Regions from separate parts of the Homo sapiens genome. Here regions 1 and 2 are each linked to region 3. Evidence: promoter capture Hi-C in human tissues and cell types (Jung and others, 2019). All regions are on one chromosome and are shown on one strand. The core of a region is centred on a gene start or on the middle of the fragment in contact, and the rest is flanking DNA. Distances in the headings are between cores, read along the strand shown. Region 1 overlaps LOC105376500 (a long non-coding RNA gene). Region 2 overlaps ZNF37A (zinc finger protein 37A). Region 3 holds the start of ZNF248 (zinc finger protein 248).

The links. The method cuts DNA at HindIII sites, captures the fragments that hold promoters and counts their contacts. A contact is called where the count stands out against the background at its distance.
Region 1: a contact is called between a fragment that was not itself captured here and the fragment with the promoter of ZNF248 in region 3, in 1 of the 25 tissues and cell types used here (spleen).
Region 2: a fragment that was not itself captured here is called in contact with the fragment with the promoter of ZNF248 in region 3 in 2 of the 25 tissues and cell types used here (H1 embryonic stem cells and mesendoderm cells).

The regions. Positions count from the first base shown.
Region 1 is chr10:38,163,631-38,166,330 of GRCh38, forward strand. LOC105376500 (a long non-coding RNA gene) reads right to left here. Exons shown (of 3, transcript XR_930832.3): 2 at 719-789. Among named protein-coding and RNA genes, the nearest start is that of ZNF37A, 71 kb to the left of the region's middle. The HindIII fragment of the contact is 4,379 bases long and covers 1-2,700 here.
Region 2 is chr10:38,115,756-38,118,455 of GRCh38, forward strand. It overlaps ZNF37A (zinc finger protein 37A), which reads left to right. Exons shown (of 8, transcript NM_001324250.3): 8 at 1,635-2,700. Among named protein-coding and RNA genes, the nearest start is that of ZNF37A, 23 kb to the left of the region's middle. The HindIII fragment of the contact is 8,527 bases long and covers 1-2,700 here.
Region 3 is chr10:37,856,270-37,858,969 of GRCh38, forward strand. ZNF248 (zinc finger protein 248) reads right to left here and starts at 1,341. Exons shown (of 6, transcript NM_021045.3): 1 at 916-1,341; 2 at 166-263; 3 at 27-68. The coding sequence starts at 41. ZNF248-AS1 (ZNF248 antisense RNA 1) reads left to right here and starts at 1,480. Exons shown (of 2, transcript NR_186559.1): 1 at 1,480-2,232. RefSeq lists an enhancer at 834-893 and silencers at 1,211-1,587, 1,284-1,833. The HindIII fragment of the contact is 12,949 bases long and covers 1-2,700 here.

The DNA.
Region 1 (2,700 bases), core at 88-2,587, 310 kb after region 3:
AAGAAGCTGCCTTTCCTTGGCTTTGTAAGCAGTTACAGATAAAAGTTTAAACATTTCCACAGGTAGCTACCCTGTTCATCTTATCTAATCAAGTGCTGATTTATTGAGCATAAGATCAGTACATAATTGACTATTTCCCTACGTGCTCCTTTTCTCTTGCAACATGAGGATCACCACACACTTCCTGTTTCCTCTCTAGGTCACTTTTCCTTTTTAAATATTGAAGCCCTCAAAATCATCTTTAGAGAAAAATCACAGACCACAGACTGTGTCTGTGATTCTGTGTTTATTTCTCCTGGGCATGTTCTTAACCTTGGCAAAATAAACTTCTACACTGATTGAGACCTGGCTCAGATACTCTTTGGTTTTACAATTGCTATGGTCTTAATGTATCCCTCAAAATGTATCTGTTAGAACTCTAATCCCTAAGACAGCAGTGTTGGGAGCTGCAGCCTAATGGAGGTGTTTAGGTCAAAAAGGCACTTTTTATTTGGAAAACTGATAAAAGAAAGAATAAATTATTTATCTATTCTGCATTTCCCATATGTGGGTGTTATCTACTACCCTGCAGTAGATGAGGGGGATGTTACTTTTTATATACATATAAAATAGTTATGTCTTATATAAGTATAAAAAAGGCTTGATGGATTGGGTTTACTTTTTGTCACTCTTCTGTCATGTGAGCACATCACATCCATCCTCTCTCCCTTTCACCTACCTCCATGTGAGAATGTAGTAGGAATACCCTCTCCAGAGGCCTCTTGATTTTGGACTTCCCAGCCTGCGGAACTGTGAGAGAATAAATTTCTGTTCTTTATGAGTTACCTAGGTTCAGGAACTCTGTTATAGCAACAGAACCCTCCCAACTGGAGTTCTTCAGCACACCCCAGTCCATCCCCTCGCTAACTCCCCCACCTGTCCAGTCTTATCTGCCTTTATATCAAAAGCCCACAGCTAACCCAGAGGGCTTCAGCCCTGCCCTGCCTTTCTAGGAAACCCCCCTCTCCACCCACCCTGATCAAGACACTGTCTGAAGTTTCCCCCTCATGATTTAAAAAAAAGAAATTTATCTGACAGAGGTTCTGCTGAGGAGGCCAGCTCTCACATCAGAGGGTGATGGCAGTTTGTGCTGGATGAGGATAAGACAATGCTGTCCTAGGGCTGGCCATCTGATAAAGCTTCCCAGAAAGTGCAGTAATGGACCCCTGGGAGGCTTTCTGCTCTCCTGTCTGCGGGTTCCTGGTGAGAGGACCTATTGGCCACTAAGGTGTCTGAATATGTGTCTGTGTGTGTGTGTGTGTGTGTGTGTGTGTGTGTGTCAGAGTGATGTGTGTGTTCTTGGCTTGATTTCTTTCAGCATGAAGCCCACTGTTTTGCTGAATGTATCTGTTTCCTGAAACTCAGTGCATTCAGCTGGCTCAAGGGTCCTGGGGCCTTACTGTGTCATATTTGCACAAGCCTTGTGTCTGTGCAGACTGTACACTGGAGTTCAGTTGTAAAACCCTTTTTCTCCCTTATCCTGACACAGTAATAGAAAAGCCATTTCATTCAATGGAATAGAAACCCAGATCTAATGGAGAGATGGTCTAATCTGCCATACATTGGAGCAGTATCCAGTGATTTGGACTTTGTGGCATTGATGGAAATTTCCAGGTTCTCTAGGTGGTGGGCAGAGACCTCACTTTTTAAGAAACTCTCCACCCCTGCCAATGAGGACACTGCTTGAGGACATTCCTGTCAATGTTAAGTAGAAGAGATTGTTTCTTTTCTTTTTCTTTCTTTTTTTTTTTTGTTTAGACAGAGTTTTGCTCTTGTTGCCTAGGCTAGAGAGCAATGGCCTAGTCTCGGCTCACTGCAACCTCTGCCTCCCGGGTTCAAGTGATTCTCCTGCCTCAGCCTCCCGAGTAGCTGGGATTACAGGGGCACACCAACATGCCCGGCTAGTTTTTGTATTTTTAGTAGAGGTGAGGTTTCACCATGTCGGACAGGCTGGTCTCGAACTTCTGACCTCAGGCAATCCACCCGCCTCAGCCTCCCAAAATGCTGGGATTATAGGCGTGAGCCACCACTCCCAGCCAAGAGATCATTTCTTGATGTTGAATTTCAGGTAAGGGAGCCAGCTCCTGAATACTGCCAGGTGCTTGGGCTGAGACAGGTCTAGACAGCACTGTCTGAAAATGGGCTCAAGGAAGTAGCTGTGAAAGGGCCCTGGGATGTTTTCTGCTCCCCTCTCTGCAAATGTCCTGGAGGGACATCCTGTTAGTCACTTTGCGGGGTGTGTGTGTGTGTGTGTGTGTGTGTGTGTGTGTTCATCAGTTGGTTTTATGTTTTTGCTTTTCTTCATGAAATCTGCAGAGCTGCCAAAAGTACCTTGATGTTTTCTGAAAGCAGAGCCAATGACCACACTCCAGGGACTGAGTTCTCAAATGTATGGTATTTGCTAAGGACGGGTGTTTACCTGCAGATAGTGTGATGGGGTTCAGAGCCAAGGAACACTAGTTTCTGTGCCCTGTTTCTATGTTAAAAAGACATTTCGTTCAACTGGATAACAGGGCAATTCTGGTGGAGAAAAGGTCTATTCTGCCATAGGATGGGGCAGCAGCCTGCAGTTCAGAACACTGGTGTGTGTCTGGAGATTTCCAGGAACTCCAGCTGCTGGTAGAGGCCCAGAAGGTAGGGGGCATTTGTCTTCAGATCAAA
Region 2 (2,700 bases), core at 152-2,651, 260 kb after region 3:
GTTTTAAAATAGCCTGGGCCCAGTGGTTCATGCCTGTAATCCTAGGTCTTTGGGAGGCTGAGGTGGGAGGATCACTTCAGCCCAGGAATTTGAGACCAGCCTGGGCAAAATAAGAAGACCCCATCTCTATGAAAACTTAAAAAATTAGCCAGGCATGGTGGCACACACCTGTGGTCCCATGCCTGGCTAATTTTTGTGATCTCAGCTACTGGGGAGCTGAGGTGACAGTCTTGCTTTAGCCTGGGAAGAGGCTGCAGTTAACTGTGTTTGTGCCATTGCACTGCAGCCTGGGTGACAGAGCAAGATTCTGTCTCTAAAAAATAAAAAGCAATTAAAATTAAAATTACACATTCAACCAGTAACGATTTCAGCGTGAAGCCTGAAAAAATTTGTGTTTGAAAAAGCTCTCCGGATAATACTGATAAACATTATTTGTTAAGTACCATTGATTTAAATATCTATATAGGGCACTGAGAGAAAATCATAGGTAAAGTAATGGCTGCCAGGAACATAGTTGTTGAACAAAAACAGAACTGCATGAAATATTTTAAAATTCAGTGTTTAACAAAGAATATTGTTATAGCAATCCAGCTGATGTTTGTGCTTAAATGAATTATAAAAACAGTCCTTTCATGTTTTTTAGTAAATGAACCTGGGAAATTTGGGAAGGAAACTTTTTAAAAACACTGTTAGACTGCAAACTGACAATGGAAAAACAATCAGTATGAGATTATGATGGGAATGAGCAATTTATGAGGGACAAACAGCTGAACTTACCTAGAGCGAAATATATTCACTCTAGACTTGTAAAAGAATGGCTTGGTTCTAATCTGAATCTAAATGTAAAGATATGTTTACTTCAGTGATACCTTGTTTAAAAAAAAAGTGTTTGTTCTTGGGACATTGGACTCAGTATAGTATAGGACAGTTGATGAAATAAAGGGCAAATCCCACAGCTGGAATAGAACCATAAACCTGATCCTGTGGCAAGGATGGCTTGTTCACTCACTGATTTCACTCTTATTGTTGCATACTTTTATTTCTAGTGAATCAGAGCTAGAAAAACAATTGAGCCAGGTGCAGTGGCTCATGCCTGTAATCCCAGCACTTTGGAAGGCCAGTGTGGATGAATTGTTTGAGGCTAGGAGTTCAAGACCAGCCTGGCTAACATGGCAAAATCCTGTCTCTACTAAAAACATAAAAACTAGCCAAGCATGGTTGCGTATGCCTGTAGTCCCAGCTACTTGGGAGGTTGAGGCATGGGAATCACTTGAACCCAGGAAGCGGAGATTGCAGTGAGCCGAGATCACGTCACTACACTCCAGCCTGGATGACAGAGCAAGACTCTGTCTCAAAAACACCACCACCACCACCACCAACAACAACCAAGAACAACAAAACCACACAGAATTGGAGCCTGGATTATAGGACTATGAATTAGAACTTTTAGAAATTTAATTTGTTGCTGCTGTGTTGACTTGAAAAGAGGTATAAGACTGGAAGTGTGCACATTGTCATAACATAGGTATGAGGAGATAATGGCCTAAACTGAGCCATGCCTTCAAATATAATGCTAAGTTTATTTCTCTTACATATCCTCGTCAACTAACCTTTCTTTTCACTCTGTATTTCAGAATTAATTAATACCAGTAGAAACTATTCAATAATGAAGTTCAATGAGTTTAACAAAGGTGGAAAATGTTTCTGTGATGAAAAGCATGAAATAATTCATTCTGAAGAGGAACCTTCTGAATATAATAAAAATGGGAACAGCTTCTGGCTGAATGAAGACCTCATTTGGCATCAGAAAATTAAAAATTGGGAACAATCTTTTGAATACAATGAATGTGGGAAAGCTTTCCCTGAGAATTCACTCTTCCTTGTACATAAGAGAGGTTACACAGGACAGAAAACCTGCAAATATACTGAACATGGGAAAACCTGTGATATGTCATTTTTCATCACTCATCAGCAAACACATCCAAGAGAAAACCACTATGGTAATGAATGTGGAGAAAATATCTTTGAGGAATCCATTCTCCTTGAACATCAGAGTGTTTACCCATTCAGCCAGAAGTTAAATCTCACTCCAATTCAGAGAACCCACTCAATTAACAATATTATTGAATATAATGAGTGTGGAACATTTTTCAGTGAAAAATTAGTCCTTCATTTACAACAGAGAACACATACAGGAGAAAAACCTTATGAATGTCATGAATGTGGAAAAACCTTCACCCAGAAGTCAGCCCACACAAGACATCAGAGAACACACACAGGGGGAAAACCCTATGAATGTCATGAATGTGGGAAGACCTTCTATAAGAATTCAGACCTCATTAAACATCAAAGAATTCATACAGGGGAGAGACCTTATGGATGTCATGAATGTGGGAAATCCTTCAGTGAAAAGTCAACCCTTACTCAACATCAAAGAACGCACACAGGGGAGAAACCATATGAATGTCATGAATGTGGGAAAACCTTCTCATTTAAGTCAGTCCTTACTGTGCATCAGAAAACACACACAGGGGAGAAGCCCTATGAATGCTATGCATGTGGGAAAGCCTTTCTCAGAAAATCAGACCTCATTAAACATCAAAGAATACACACAGGTGAAAAACCTTATGAATGTAATGAATGTGGGAAGTCATTCTCTGAGAAGTCAACCCTTACTAAACATCTAAGAACTCACACAGG
Region 3 (2,700 bases), core at 91-2,590:
TGGGAATAAAGAAACAAGAATCTCACCTGGGATTTGTTCATTTTCCGCTCTTAGTGGAGGAAGGAGAGCTGAAGGATTAGAAAGGAAGAATGTCAGGAGAGCCTTCGCCGGCCTTGCAGTTCGGAGATTCACCTGCCTATACAGGTCCACACACAAGATACTTACGTGTCCATGTGTGGCTCCGATATATGCTGAGCTCAGACATGACACTTTTCACTGAGTGAATGTAAATATTTCTTATTGATTTATTACCAATTTAGGTTCTGTGACACAGAAAAATTAAAAACATGAAAAGATGAGTTTAACAAGTTAACAGTAATCTGAAGGAAAAAACACTATGGGTTTGTCAAAATTCCTTGTAGGGAAAAAAAAAAACTGAGGCCATATTGTTTATCTGTTTACCTGTTAACACCATTAATGCCCTGAGGTTAGATAATGCAAAAGACCTCTAAAAAAAGGGATAGGATGTTAAATGCAAGTTTAAAAATGTTTGTTCTAACTTGCTAACAATTCCTCAAAAGGATCTTTTAATGAGAAACTGTGATATAGAGTAACAAAATGGGCAGCAGTGGCTCGGGAAACTGCAGACTTGACTTCTAATCTCAGTTCTGCCTCTAAGGAATGACAAGATCTGAACTACTCACCTCCTCAAACTCAATTTTGTTTTTCCATCTTTCAAATAAGGTCAAAACAGATAACCCAAGTATGACCTGACTGCACTACCATCCGGCGGGGATATCAGGCCAAGAGAGGAGGAAGCTCAGCAGCTCATCTGGATGTGCCCGGTGTTCGCGGAGGGGTGATAACAGCATTTCTTTCGCTGTGGCCGTGAGCCTTTCACCCGTCCCTGCCCTCAGACTCTCCAGAGGTGACGTTCCTGTTAGCCTGCGCGCCCACCCCTCAGCTCCAGCTCACCTCTCTCTTCTTAAATTTGTCCCAGACCTTGCACCAGCACACAGACTCCGACGGCTTCAGGATACTGTGCCATGATTACACATAATACATAAGCGAACGCGAAACGTGTAAATAATTACTTGGGATAGGAGGGCGGTCAGAGCCAGCAGGGGCCCTGGTGGTCAGCTAGGCCAGCCCCTTCGCTCCTGCACTCCACGGGCAGAGAGGCCCTTGGGGCCGGTGCAGGAGCCGTCTCCCTCGGGCTCTCCCAGGGAACGCACACCCAATAAATACAGCACCTAAACAATGAAAGTGCTCAAAACAACCCCAGGCGGCAAGTATTCCTAATATCCGTAATTTACAGAGAGGAAAACCGAGTCTCCCGTGGATAATTGTGTCTAATTCATTTGTCGCGGACCTGGCGCAGTCGCTCTCCCCCGCAGCCCCGCCTCCTCCCCGCGGGCTCAGGGCACAAAAAGCGCACACGCACACATCAAACGCCATGCGCACGCGCACAACAAACGTCACACGCTACGCACGCGCGTGCTGTCCCCTCCCCGCAGCCAGTTCCCTCCCCTTCGGGCCAGTGCGCATTGCCTACCCCGTGCTACAGGACTTCGCTGAGCGCCAGGCGCAGGGACTGGACGCATACGGACCCCCGGGAGCCCCGGAACTCGCGTTCCCACGCCAGACCTCATCCCCTTCTGACAGAGACGCCCTCGTCCCACCGTCGCCGCAGGCGCCAGGGGTCCCTCCCCACCGCCGAGGTCTAGCCGCCGCCCGCCCGCCTTCAGGGCAGCGCGGGGACCCCCTGGCCCTCGCCCAGTGCTCCGGGGCTCACCCGCCGCTCCTCGCCGCCTCCGGAGGCGAGGGATTGTTTCCCACAAGGGACTGGAGTCCAGGGAAGGACTCGCCTGGAGCGGGAGGCGGGGATGCACATGCGCAGAGGGAGAGGCCGAGCGCCCGAGTTAGGCTGGTGGATGCGATGCGGGGCTTGGAAGCGGCGCTAGACGGTGCCTGTCAGCTCTGGCCGCAACCCTCAGTTGTAAAATGAGGCTGATAGTGCCTACCTAGCAGGGGTTTTATGAGAATTGGAGGCGCTTACGTTGTAAAAGCATTTAAACCGGTGTCTGACACATAAATTGTTCAGTATATTTCTCACAATTATATATCATGCTGGTCATCATAAGGCTCTCCTGCAAAACAGCCTTGTATAGTGGGTTGAGAGATTACTGTCTCAGTTACCCACTCCTGCTTGGAACCAGGATTCTGTCAGTGTCCCCAGAGGTTGTGGATCAAATCAATGTGCCTGTTAGACACAAGCCAAGAGAAGGAAAGGTGTGCTTGAATTCATTCACGATCATGCATGGTAACGTTTAACTGAAAGACTGGAAGAGAAAACTAAAATCTGTGACCAGTATGGTTATTCTCTGGAATAAGGAAAAACAGAAGCTAGCAATTCAAGACCCAAACATAAAATTGTTTATATGTTTAAAAAAAAAAAAGCCGTTTGAGTAACAAATTTGAAGAAGAAAGCACGCACTCATTTCCCAAAACCAACCATACTTTACCCAGAACTACACTACACGTACATTCTTTTACGTGCACATCTGGCATTTTCAGCACACTATGAGCATGTGCGTGTGTTACAACTTTTCATTTAAAAAATCAACTCCTGGGTCATTGTCCACTTTTTTAAACTTTTCATTTGCTCATAATTTCAGATTTACAGAAGAGTTGCAAAATAGTTCCTATATGCCTTTCACCCAGATTCCACTAGTGTTAGTATTTTACATGACCATGGTA